Linked DNA regions of Homo sapiens: all the other regions are linked to region 1. The links are contacts of gene promoters, found by promoter capture Hi-C in blood cells and fetal thymus (Javierre and others, 2016). All regions are on one chromosome and are shown on one strand. Each heading gives the region's core, a stretch centred on a gene start or on the middle of the fragment in contact. The rest is flanking DNA. Distances are from core to core; before and after follow the strand shown.

What was found. The method cuts DNA at HindIII sites, captures the fragments that hold promoters and counts their contacts. A CHiCAGO score of 5 or more calls a contact.
Region 2: a contact is called between a fragment that was not itself captured here and the fragment with the promoter of GNPAT in region 1, in 6 of 17 cell types (M1 macrophages, naive CD4 T cells, non-activated CD4 T cells and 3 more). The highest score is 6.5, in M1 macrophages.
Region 3: a contact is called between a fragment that was not itself captured here and the fragment with the promoter of GNPAT in region 1, in 3 of 17 cell types (total B cells, activated CD4 T cells and M2 macrophages). The highest score is 5.5, in total B cells.
Region 4: a fragment that was not itself captured here is called in contact with the fragment with the promoter of GNPAT in region 1 in 12 of 17 cell types (naive CD8 T cells, naive CD4 T cells, neutrophils and 9 more); the score reaches 11.4 in naive CD8 T cells.

What each region holds. Positions count from the first base shown.
Region 1 is chr1:231,239,522-231,242,764 of GRCh38, forward strand. GNPAT (glyceronephosphate O-acyltransferase) reads left to right here and starts at 1,691. Exons shown (of 16, transcript NM_014236.4): 1 at 1,691-1,935. The coding sequence starts at 1,858. FSAF1 (40S small subunit processome assembly factor 1) reads right to left here and starts at 1,654. Exons shown (of 7, transcript NM_152379.4): 1 at 1,503-1,654. The coding sequence starts at 1,620. RefSeq lists enhancers at 1,384-1,723, 1,704-2,593. The HindIII fragment of the contact is 8,993 bases long and covers 1-3,243 here.
Region 2 is chr1:230,927,125-230,930,078 of GRCh38, forward strand. TTC13 (tetratricopeptide repeat domain 13) reads right to left here. Exons shown (of 23, transcript NM_024525.5): 12 at 1,813-1,969. Among named protein-coding and RNA genes, the nearest start is that of TTC13, 50 kb to the right of the region's middle. The HindIII fragment of the contact is 946 bases long and covers 946-1,891 here.
Region 3 is chr1:230,947,460-230,950,757 of GRCh38, forward strand. The region is part of intron 4 of TTC13 (tetratricopeptide repeat domain 13); the gene reads right to left. Among named protein-coding and RNA genes, the nearest start is that of TTC13, 30 kb to the right of the region's middle. The HindIII fragment of the contact is 3,311 bases long and covers 203-3,298 here.
Region 4 is chr1:230,909,267-230,912,648 of GRCh38, forward strand. It overlaps TTC13 (tetratricopeptide repeat domain 13), which reads right to left. Exons shown (of 23, transcript NM_024525.5): 19 at 3,357-3,382; 20 at 2,204-2,283. Among named protein-coding and RNA genes, the nearest start is that of C1orf198, 42 kb to the left of the region's middle. The HindIII fragment of the contact is 7,430 bases long and covers 1-3,382 here.

The sequences.
Region 1 (3,243 bases), core at 441-2,940:
GCAGCCACTGTTTCTTTTTAACACTTTCTGGGTTACAGGAACATGGAATAGTCTTCCTATTTTCTTTCACAGTTAGGAATTAAGATGAACCTAAGACAACTGGCTCAATTTGAATGCCTTTGTTTTCTATTAATTCCTCTTTCTATATTTCACTTGTTGAAGCTCTGACCAGTCACCTGAAAGTTCTAACCAGAATCCTAGGCATCCTTACTCACATGTATTACAAATACCACAGAGCTCTCTAAATTACCAGCTGCTGATTTATGCTTGCTACTATTTGCTTAATCTTTTATACAATAAACATTTAAGAGCCAACTAAACTTTGGCATTAAGGATATAAAAATGAATAGACACATTCAATGCCTTCAGAGCTCCTACCATGATTTCCAGCCTGTGTTGACATGAACTATATTATTTTGCAGAATAGTCTTTTCCTCTAGATTTTAAACTTCTCAAGGTCAGAGACTAAGTCTTCTCTGTCCTCCAATATGTCCAAGGGCACAGAAATGCTAGTTAATACAAGCATGGGGTCTGGGGCTAGAATCAGAACCCAGGCTCTGCAAAAATTACCAGTCAGACAACCTGCATCAGGTTTCATGAACTTCTAGTACTTGTTTCTACATCTGCAATCATGGATTTATGACAGTGTCTATTTCATGAAGTTGAAAATTAAATGAGCAAATACACGAAAAGCATGTGCTATATGGCAAGTTCTCAACAGTTTTAACTATTATTCCTACTGTTTAGGTGAACTTAGAATTTTGAGCAGTCATTCCAAAATAAAAATAGCTTTTAAAATATCACGCTGTAAATTTAAGAAATGTGTGTTGTCCTGAAATCTAATGATTTTCTTTGGTGCATGTGCAAAGGGTGTCACCTTCTCCCGGGAAAGCTCTTCAGAGTATGAGGCACTGTCTTCCTACTGACATGCCATGCGACTTTAATAGGCTCTTTTATTTTCCTTTTCCCCCATCAAGACAAAGAACGGAGAGTAAAAGATCAGCGCACTTGTTTAAAAAAAAAAAAGTCGTGAAAAGGACAACTCGCCAAGGACTATGATGTCTCTGGAGAGGGACACACAAGGATGAAGCTGGTGTATTATCCAACAGGCCCGAGGCCCCAGAGCGAAATGACACCATCGCACCAGGGTCAGGCAGGTCTTGGGGGTGGCATGGGGAAAGGGGACTTCCCAGGGCTCAAGAAAACGTGGAAAAGCGGGCTACTTTTAAATCGGAAAGCCTTGGTGCTTCCTACAAGCAAGTAGGATGGTCCCCACACTTGGGGACGAGTTGGAAGGTTTGATGAATAACTCAGCAGAGCCCGGTCGAGGGGTGACTTCCGATGGAGAAATGTGTTCGCTACTGGAACCAGGTGGGACGAAGGGTGCTTGACATGCAAGAACCTTTAGCCTCAAAGCAGAGGCCAACCCAGGACGGGCAACACAGGAGACCCACGTTCCTCAAATCTGTTCTCCACGTGGGCTCCTGGGACCCCGCACTCACCAAAGTCGTAAAGGTTCTGGAGCAGAGCGTCAAGAAGTGTCGGAGAACTGGGAGGCGTGGAGGACCCCGGCCCTTGCTCCTGCGACATTGTGGGGTCAGCCGAGGAATCAACCCTCATTCTGCCGCGCTGCACCCCCGCTTCCGGGTTCCGCGACTGCGCGCATGCGCTGCAGGGCCCTGCGCGGCTTCCGTCCTGGCTGAGATGGCGGCGCCCGGGATCCTGTGTAGCGGCTGCAGAGGGTGCCGCCGCCCTAGGCGAAGTAGGGCCGTCCTGAGCGAAAGAACCGCCCCCAGCAGGAGCACCACCACGGCTTAGCAAAGAATCCCAGACCCCGCCCGGGAAGGCAGCCGCACCATGGAGTCTTCCAGTTCATCTAACTCTTATTTCTCCGTTGGCCCAACCAGTCCCAGCGCTGTCGTGCTCCTCTACTCGGTAGGCGCCCAGGGAAAAGAGGCCCAGAGCGGAGCCGCGCGAAATAGTACCCCTTTCTCCCAGTCCCTATTCCTCCGGCCCACCACCCTTGCCCAAAAGAGCTGGCCCCTAGGCTCCCGAGGAGGGGTTAGTTGGTTGGATTGGTTTCCAGGACAACAGTGTATCGCTGTGTGTCTGTGTGTGCATGCTTTTGGAAGTTTCTACGGATTATGGTTCCTTTGGTTCCTTTCCACTTTTTCCTTCTCTTTCTTTCTATCAGGCCCTGGGGCCTTCAGAAAGCTCCTGGACACGAGAATGAGGAATGAGAATTGGAGTCTCCCCATCTCTAGCGAGGGCATGTCGAGCTACCTTTTGGGCAAACCTGAGAAACTTGCGGGTTTGACCCGCCCTGAGATAGCCTGTGGCTCCGCACCCCGCCCTATGCTGCTGTTATATTCCTGGGAGTAGAGCACTTGGCTTGTATGTGGGAATAGAGTTTTAAACACTTCAGGAAAATTTAGAACTTCTAGACATTTTTATTGCCTGTTCTTGTCTTCCAGTCATTATTGTACCTTTTCCACAAATCATTTTGGAGGACAGCCAGCGCCACCCAGCTTCTCTCCCGCTTGTCTTTTTTTCCTCCAACCCCCTCTTCCTCTCTTGGTTTTAACGGGTCTTTTTGGCTGGCAGATGTTGGTCACCCACGATTTTCATGAAGAAATTATGAGATGGGAGCTTTATAGCCTTCAGGATTGCACAGACCTGGGGCAACTGGTTTGGTTTTTGTTTGTTTCTTGTTGTTTTTAACCACTAAATTAGTTTTTAGCTACTTTAGGAGAAAATGAAAGAATTCATTTTAAAAGCATATTAGCATATCCTGGTGATTACTGTCCAATTTTGGCTTAAATGTAGTGTTCATTTGTGCAGAAAGGTCAAAACAGGGATAACACAGCAGAGCAAGATAAACACCCCAGTTTTGAAAGAGAATATATGGGTTCCTTCAAATTGAGACACCAATATTCTTTGGAACATGGAGAAACTTCTGTTCCCTCTCTATCAAGACCTTTCGGTTTCTGATTGCTAACTGCCTATAAGCCTTATTATTTAGATATATCTCTTCATTGATCTTATCTTCCCCACAGTTCTGTGGTGGATATCAACTTTGTTTTCTGACTCTGCTACTCCAGAGCAGGCACGAAGGGAAGAGGGTTGCTGTGCAGATCCAGCTTTTAACATGTAGCTTTTTAAGCTCCCAACTGGTTTGTGAATTGGTTGGAATTTTCCTTTTGTACATTAAAGGAAGGAGTTGGTTTTGTTTGTTTGTTTGTT
Region 2 (2,954 bases), core at 169-2,668, 310 kb before region 1:
CATTCTTCTGTTGATGGCATTTGGGTTGATTTCCAGTGTTAGCTGTGAACAAATTCTGCTGGCAGACCTGTATAAATCTCTCCTGGTAGACATGTGCACAAGTACAAAGTTCTCTGAATAGACACAGGAACAGAATCTTATATCAAGTATGAGAATATTCAGCTTTACTAGATAATGAAAAACTGCTTTCCAAAGTGGTTGTAGCAACTTATACTCTAACCAGGAGTATAAAAGTTCTCCATAATCTCCCTTATGACCAATATTACTATTATCAGACTTCGTAACATTTGCTCATCTAGTGGCTGAAAAAAATCTCATGAGGCCTTAATTTATGAACTAAAGTATCTCTTCATGTTTGTCATTCATGTTTTCCCTGTGGTAAAATTACTTGTTCATGTCTTTTGCACACTTTTCTATTGGTTGTCTCTTATTTTTTAATTTGTAGTGATACTTCATAAATTTGGACAGTAATTCTTGGTCAGTTATTAAATTTCCAAGTATCTTTATCCAATTTGGGCTTATTTTTCTTTCCTTATGGTGTCATTTGTTGAACGGAAGTTCTTAGGTTCAAGGTAGTCCAATTTATCAACCTTTTTGTTTCAGATCTATGCTTTGTGCTTCTTATGAAATCCTTGTCTACCCCAAAGTCATAAACATCTTCATTTATATTTCCTCCTAAAGTTTAAAATATTTTGCCATTCATACTTCAGATTTTCATCCATTTGGAATTAGATTACTATGCCATCACAAATATCAATTTTATTTTATCCATAAAATAACTTAATTGGCCCACTCCCACATCTTAACCAGTCCCACTCTGATCTCTAACACACCTTTCCCATTTATCTAAGTTATCTATTCTCTTCCTTAGTCCACTTGTCTATCCCTGCAGCAATACCATTCTGTTCATTATTATATTAAGTTTTGCTACCTGGTAAGATGAGAAGCTTCCCCTTCAAGCCTGAGCATCCTCTTCTTTGGGAGTATCTTGATTACTCTTGGTCCTTTGTTCTTCAATACATTTGCTTAACAAGTGCCTCAAAAAAACTTGGGATTTTGAATGGCATTTTATTAAATATATAATTAATTTGCAGATAAATGGCCTACTAATGTTACTGAACTTCCAATCCATGAACATAGTATTTCTCACCATTTATTTGTTTTATCTTAGTAACTTTCAATTAAGTTTTGTGATCTCCATACAGATTTTATACAGATCTTGTAAGATTTACTTCTAAGTATTTGTTACTACTATAAATGATATTTTTGTTGCTTATATATAGAAATGTAACTGATTATTGTATATTGATTATAAACAATGAGCTTGCTAAACTCTCATCATTTCCTATAATTTGTAGATCTTCTAGGTTTCCTTTGTAGAAAACTATGTGATCTGCAAACAATGACAGCTTTCTATTTTCCTTTCTAATCCATATCACTGATTTCTTTTTCTTCTCTCTGTGCACTGTCTAGGACTTGTAGTTCAGTATTACAGAGAAGCACTGATTCTGGGCTTTTTGCTTTGACTCCCAATGGTAATGTTAATGTATCTACCATTTCATAAGTTAAAATGATGTTTGCTATAGGTGTTTTTTGTTTTGTTTTGTTTTTAGAGATGGGGTCTTTGCTGTGTTGCTGTAGTGCGATGGATGGATATTCACAGGCACAAGGATAGTATGCTTGATTGAACTCCTGGCCCCAGGCAATTCTACCTCACCCTCCCAAGTAGCAGGGAGTAGCGTGCCACCATGCCCAGCTTATAGCTCAGTTTTGAGAAAGGAAAAAAAAATCATCTTCATTTAAAGCACTTACTTTATGTGGGGTTGCAACCCTGGCTGCTCTTCGTAGTCTTCTATGAGGAAAGGCAAATTTTTAGCCCAGTGGTCCTTAAAGCTTCCAGGCAGATCCACATCAATGTTATATTCCGTAAGGGGGGTATCAAGGTGTGCATGAAGATATCGAGAATACTCTGCAGAAAGGAAATGAGATCTGACACATCCAAATACTGCTAAAGAAACTTTCTTATGGCTAGCTGCCATACAAATACTTTGTAACAAGCTGTTCTTCAATTATAAGAATTCTAAAGAGTTTCTAAATTTTAGTAAGTCACTATTAGTATATGATAGAGGTAACCTGCCACTGACTTGAGATAACAAGGTCAAATATAAGTCAGTCAGTCTGGGTCTACTTTGGCTACATTTTTTTTTTTTGAGACGGAGTCTTGCTCCAGCCCAGGCTGGAGTGCGGTGGTGCAATCTTGGCTCACTGCAAGCTCTGCCTCCTGGGTTCAAGCCATTCTCCTGCCTCGGCCTCCCGAGTAGCTGGGACTACAGGCACCCGCCACCATGCCCAGCTTATTTTTTGTATTTTTAGTAGAGACAGGGTTTCACCGTGTTAGCCAGGATGGTCTCGATCTCCTGACCTTGTGATCCGCCTGCCTCAGCCTCCCAAAGTGCTGGGATTACAGGCATGAGCCACCGCGCCTGGCCTAGTTTGGCTAAATTTTAATCACCTTTCCAGGAAAACCACTAAAAATCTCATTGTTTTCAATTCCAGAGCTTAAGAATCCAAGTTCAGTCTCAGATAGAGCCTGGTACTCTGTCAACTGGTATATAGATTGATTGGGTATATAATTTCACCAACCGACTAATGGACTGCTGCTTATCTCTATGAAAGCAGTGTAGGAAAAAACCCAAAGTACAGAATACCTGCCCCTTCTGCCTATAATTCACAAGCGCAAGCTCCACTGAACCAGAAAAAAGGGAATTGTAATTCAGGTAGAAGAAAGATGTTCTCTAATAGGTAGCCCCTAGCCACCTGGCTATTGGATACTTAATGAGGCTAGGGTGATTGAAACTGAATTTTAAACTTTATTTAATTTGAATTAATTTAAACTTACAAACTGATACTTGATTCAATCATCAGAAAACTTCAGTGCATGTGGAACAACTTAC
Region 3 (3,298 bases), core at 608-3,107, 290 kb before region 1:
AGCAGGGGTGTCCAATCTTTTGGCTTCCCTGGGCCACATTGGGAAAAGAATTGTCTTAGGCCACACATAAAATACCGTAACACTAATGATAACTAATGAGCTAAAAAAAAAAAAATATCATAATGTTTTAAGAAACTTTACAAAGCTGTGTTGAGCCACATTCAAAGCCATCCTGGGCTGCATGTGGCCCATGGGTTGGACAAGCTTGCTTTAGGATAACATACATCTCCAGGAAGAACCAAACCTATGCTCAGATTTGTTATGGTTCAAAATATATTATCCAAGCTGCTTTTCTCCTAACAGAAAAAAGTTTACTCCAGATGACCAAGAGGTGAATCAGAAAAAGATGTAAATAAGCAGTTATTCTACAAATACAACTGGCATCCCCGCACACCCGTGGCCGGGGCTGGTGCTCTGGCATCCTCCTGCTCTCCAGGTCACACACCCCTCACCAAATCCTGGCCATCTCACCTCCTGAACAGATCAGCATCCTCCCACCCACTCCATCAGCCACTGCCCTATTCTAAGCCTTCCTCTCTCACCTAGGATACTGTGATCACCTTACCTGTTCCCATTTCTTCCTATCTATTCTCCAGATATACACCAAGAGTTATCTTTCTAACACTAAAGTCTCATCATATCATTTCCCTAACTGAAATTATTCAGTGACTCCCCAACACCTAATACAGTGACATTCAAACTTTTTAAACTCCAAATCACTGAAATACATTTTACATTACAATCCAGTACACACATACACATGTGCACAATATATACACACATGTATCAGAAAACAGTTTCAGTAGGTTATACCTAGGACTTCCTATACACAATGGAATCTGATATTTTCTAGTCCAGCATATTTCACTTAAAAAAAAAAGTGCTAATCTTGACTTGCCAATTAATTTCAGGACCCACTAAAGGGTAGCAACTCACAATACAAAAAAAAAAAAAAAAGGTAACATCTAAATGGCTCTGCAGAAAATATTAATCATTTTCCTGCTTACTGTTCAGCCTCATCTCCTTCCTCTTTTTTTTTTTTCTTTTCATAAAGACAGGGTCTCACTCTGTCACCCATGCTAGAGTACAGTGGTGCAAGCCTAGCTCACTACAGCCTCAAACTCCTGGGCTCAAACTCCCACCTCAGCCTTTCAAGTACCTGAGGCTATAGGAGTGCACGATCACACCAGGCTAATTTTAAAATTTTTTTGTTGAGATGGGGGTCTCACTTTATTGCCCAGGCTGGTCTCAAGCTCCTGGGTTCAAGCAATCCTCCTGCTTCAACCTCCCAAAGTGCTGGGGTTACAGGCGTGAGCCACCACACCCAGCTTCACTTCATACCCTAGAAATCAGAATCATTTAATAATTCCCTACATACAAGATGCTTTCCCAAATGCAGTGCATTTGCAAATGCTATCCCCTCTGTCTGAAACACTCACCCATTGCCTCGGTCCCCAAGAAATTCCTTTGATCCCTTAAGTCTCAGTTCAAACACCACCTTTGGATTCCTTCCAGACGCCCCTGGAAAATAAATATGCTCCTTCTCCTTTATTCCCACTGTTCACTGTATGGATGTCAGCCATTCATTCCACAATTATTTACTCAGGGCCTACTGTTAGCTATCTCAGGTTCCATGTGCTAGGAATACCATGCAAAGTCATGCTATTCTTGCCACATACTAGGAATAGCAAGCAAAAACCAACACAGAAGACAAAGATTTGCCTATCAGATCAAAGTCAGCTCTGCTAAGCCTATTCTTCCCAAAGGGAAGCAAGCAGGACAACATGGCTAATAATAGTGGGGTGCAGGTCAATGGAAAACAAGAGCCCGATCCAGGGTAACAGGAAGGCAAAGCTCTATGACAGATGTGCCACAGTGAATGACGTATGGTGGCCCTCCAGCTCTTGCAGCTGGAACATTTTTATAGTAATAAAAATTTTAAATTAAAAAAAAAAAACAGCCATTCAAAAATTTGCAACAGCTGAAATATCCGAACACTGACAACTTCCTAAAGGTAGCCATCATCATCTTGACTGCAGGATTGGATGTGTGCCCCACACAGAGGCCCTCGCACGGGCCTCCCCTCAAGTCACCCCATGGTCTCATCATTACTACAGCACTGAATTGATTACTGTGCTTATCTGTAAAGTATTTAGGTTTTCTCTATTCAATTTATTCTTTCCTTTTTTTTTTATTTTTTATTTTTGAGACGAAGTCTCGCTGTCGCCCAGGCTGGACTGCAGTGGCGCGATCTTGGCTCACTGCAAGTTCCACCTCCAGGGTTCACGCCATTCTCCCGCCTCAGCCTCCTGAGTAGCTGGGACTACAGGCGCCAGCCACCATGCCCAGCTAATTTTGTTTTTGTATTTTTAGTAGAGACGGGGTTTCACCATGTTAGCCAGGATAGTCTCAATCTCCTGACCTCGTGATCCGCCCGCCTTGGCCTCCCAAAGTGCTGGGATTACAGGCCTGAGCCACCACGCCCGGCCCAATTTATTCTTTCTTTTTAGAATTTTTTCCTAACAGTCAAGAAGGACATATAATTATTGTGGCTGTTATATCTACAGTCTAGTATTAAGCCTTCCTAAATTTAAATAACAGATTTTATTACTTTTAAAAGTTGATACAACTTTATTTATTATTTTATCTATCATTAGCTAAAAGCCAAAAACTTTTCTTTATGGAATGCCATAGTAAATTATTGGGTTTTTCCAAATAAAAACCAACGTTTATTCCTAAAAACAAATTAGGCTCTGAAGAGCAATTTTTCAAAATATTTTTATAATATTTATACTTTATAAAGTTTTCAGAAACTTTTTAAAAAGTTTCTTTAAAAAGTTTCTATACTCTTAAAAAGACTGAAATGAAAATGAATACTTCAATCTTCCAATTTTACTTTATGCAACTGCAAAATCATGGTATAACAGTTGCCTAAATGGTGTTGTGTCTACTTAGATGTCTCAATTCGCAAAAAAAAAAGAGTCTAATATATTATCCTCATTTCATTACTTATATAGTGACTTTAAATTTTACAGTATTTACTGTATTTACCACTACAAGGCTGGCTTTTTTATTAAAACTGGGAAGTCACTGGATCTAAAAACAAACAAGTCGAAACAGTCAGTAGATAAGCAATGTAATGAGGATTAGATTTCACCTAAGTGACGAACACACATATTTACATAAAGGATGTTATTTAAAATTCTATGCAGAGGAATGTTTCCAATTTTGTATGCTAATGTAAAATAGGAAGTAATATTCTTTTACAAGTTCAGTTCCACTGGAATCAGATCAAAAT
Region 4 (3,382 bases), core at 846-3,345, 330 kb before region 1:
GCCAAGGTGGGCGGATCGCTTGAGGTCAGGAGTTTGACAGCAACATGGCGAAACCCTGTCTCTACTAAAAACACAAAAATTAGGCCAGGCATGGTGGCTCACACCTGTAATCCCAGCACTTTGGGAGGCCGAGGTGGGTGGATCACTTGAGGTCAGGAGTTCGAGACCAGCCTGACCAACATGGCAAAACCCCATCTGTAACAAAAATACAAAAAATTATCCAGGAGTGGTGGCATGTGCCTGTAGTCCCAGCTACTTGGGAGACTGAGGCAGAAAAATTGCTTGAACCCGGGAGGCAGAGGTTGCAGTGAGCCGAGATCGCTCCACCGCACTCCAGCAATGCATGTATACAATAAAGTTCATAAATACAAATACATATGTTAGTCTTACTTTTTAAGCATTAGAAATGCTGGCCTTCAAAGAAGAAATGCAGAATACATTCTCACAATGTACTAACGGACAGATGGTTTGGAGATTTGGGCATGTGTGTGAACTGCCAGGGCTCCAAGGTGGCTGTTAGAGGCCAGGGGATTGTGGGGTACCTTTGCCTGCTGGCTCGGAGGCTCGTGGGGCAAGGTCTGCTGCCCTGTCACTCCAGAACGAGTGTAGAGCTGCGAGTGTGCAGGTCTGGGGTAGGAGGCATTTGTAAGACGTTGTGCTTCTGCTCTTGGTGAGGGAAGAGAGGGAGCTGACTGGTTTTGGGTGGAAGGGGCTGGCAAAAGGCCATGGGACCCACTATTGTAACCACAGTGTTGTGCTTTTCCCAAAACAAATCGGCTCAAAATAAAGACAGCTCTCACCCATGAGATAATGCATCCTAGCAGGTGGAAAGGATGGCACGAGCACCTGAGAAAGCTAACAAGTGCCATGGGTGGACACCAAGAAAAGTGAGTCAAGGTGATTCATGGGGTTCTCCAGCAGGGAAGACTTCAGAGGCTAAAGACATGTGCTCTGCAACCTCCAGGGTCCCAGGGCTGAAGATGAAAGGGGCAGAGAAGGCAGGGAGATGTGGCAGAGAGCCCACGTGGAAAGCCAAGGGGAAGCAAAAGAGCCACGGAAGAGAGCGGTGCTGCAGCCAAGGCAAACCAGGGCAGGGCAGGGCTAGCACTGCGCACTGTGTATGCTGCCAAGCTCGGCTTAAACCCATGGTTTTCAGAAGGTGCTGGAGAGCCGCAGGGCACAGAGAGGAGCAGGAGCAAAGCTAGCTGTGGCGGGTACAGGGAAGAGAGAAACAGAAGTGTGGGAGGCAGAATCAACAGACTATTTAGGATTGAAGAGATGTAGGGATGAGGCAGAGTTGAGGACAATCAGAGCTGCACGTCCTTCAATGTCACACGTGAGCCAGCAGAGCTGCTGTGAGGACAAAGGACGGATGCTGGCTGTTGAGTACAGTGGGGCCCACAAGCGGTGATGTGCACAGGCCTCACATCCCTTATTCAGTGGACACAACTAGCAATATTATGCTGATAAGACAACATTTATGTTTCTATTTTGTTTCAATGAGTCTTAAATTCTATAACCAAATTTACTACCACACTTAGGGGAGTTTTACTTTCTAAGCCATTAATCAAAGATAAAGACATTCAAGTGTATTATTTTTAGCCAAAACATCTTAAGTTCAACTATGTGCCAGTAATGGCAAAAGGCCATTTACATAATTTACTGCACACAGTGCTGGGAAAAGGAGAATGAAATGAAAACTCTACAGTCATAGCTCTTGTTTTAATGATACCTAAAAAACTCCTGATATACAAGTAGCAAGAATTTATCCAAAATAATAAAAATAGTACAGAGTGACTGTTGGCCCAAAAGTATAAAACATGAGGATTATGGGTCACCTGACAGCCCAAAATGGAAAAGGAAGAGGAGGAGGAAGAGGTTCAGTAAGAGGCTGGCAGATACAAAAAATTAAAACACACTGAGCACGGCACATGATACACAGTAAACTTTCCATGAACTTGTGTTGAATGGATGAATCCCTATCCTATTAAACGTAAGCACACTATATTAGAACTGTCTTCTATAATTCTTTTGCTGATGTGATAGACTAAGGAAATATTTTTTTGTGCAGATTTTGGAAAAAAATAGGGAGCTCCTTACCATTTCTTTGTGTACTCTGTACCTATATCCATAACAGGAAGGATAAGCAAAAAAGAACACATTTCTCAATTTAAAATAATTTTAATGACAGGATATTACTTACCTGGATCCTCGAGAGAGTGGCATTAAATTATAAAAGTAATAAACTAAGGATAAGATTAAGTTGCAGACAGCATCAGCCTCCTAGAAAAAAAAGATACAGACTCATAAATACTATAAAGATTACAAACTAATTTTTCATTAGGTGACAGAACACACAAGAATAATCTACATCAAGAAGAGGATTGTTTTCTTCCTCCCCCATAAGAATCTACTTTTCAAATTCTTGAATATTCTATACCCTTTTGTATCATTTTTTTCCAATTTAGTTCAATTTAGAGCAATGTTTTCCCAGCTGTTTCTTAAACTGCAACTCTTGGATAAACATAAAAATCTCAGTCTCCTTTAACGTTATTTGAAATGTCAAAATATATATTGTGACTAAAATTTTAAAAGGCATTTATTAACACCAAATATGTTCTCTCAAACAACATGTACCTTACCCCAAAAGATCTGGGTAAGCCCCTTCCCCTACTCCGCATTGAGATTTGGATGATGCTCAATTATGTGTATAAACTTAGATGTTTAATTATATGGATGCAGTGATTAAATGTTGGAGAAATAAGGTGACTTTTCAAGGGTAAGGGGCACCCGTCCACTGCAGAACACAGAGAAGGGGCGTGGTGGGGAGAGAATGTCCACCATACCCTGCTGCCTGTAACGACTCCACCTCGAGTCCAAGCAGACAACCAAAGAAGAAGGCCACAGACCAGGAAAGGGCCGCCAAGTGCAAAGTATACACAACTTCATTATACTTTCCTTGCCATTAACTCATCAGAATGCATCATCCAGTTTACATTCAAAAGCTCCTTGTAAATATACGGTTATAAGCAACAACCGCAACGAAGGGAAGAAAATGGAAGAAAAAGGTGAAGCCCAGGTCATTTTCATTATGGACCAGCTTTTTTATATCTTGTCAAAGCCCAAACTTATGATAATGTCATAGTGCAGTACTAAATTATTAATTTATTATCCTCCCCATTACTGTAGTTACTAAATACAAGAATTTTTGCCTATAAGAAATAAGAAATATTTTTAGGTCAATTCAACCCAATTTCAAGCATAAGATGTACAATCTCAGTGAAAGGGCAGAGGTTCAAAAAATTTACAAAAGAATCATAGGAAGAGCAGAAAAATGGAAACAAAGAGAAACCTACCCCAAATTCTGATGAAAGAATCAATA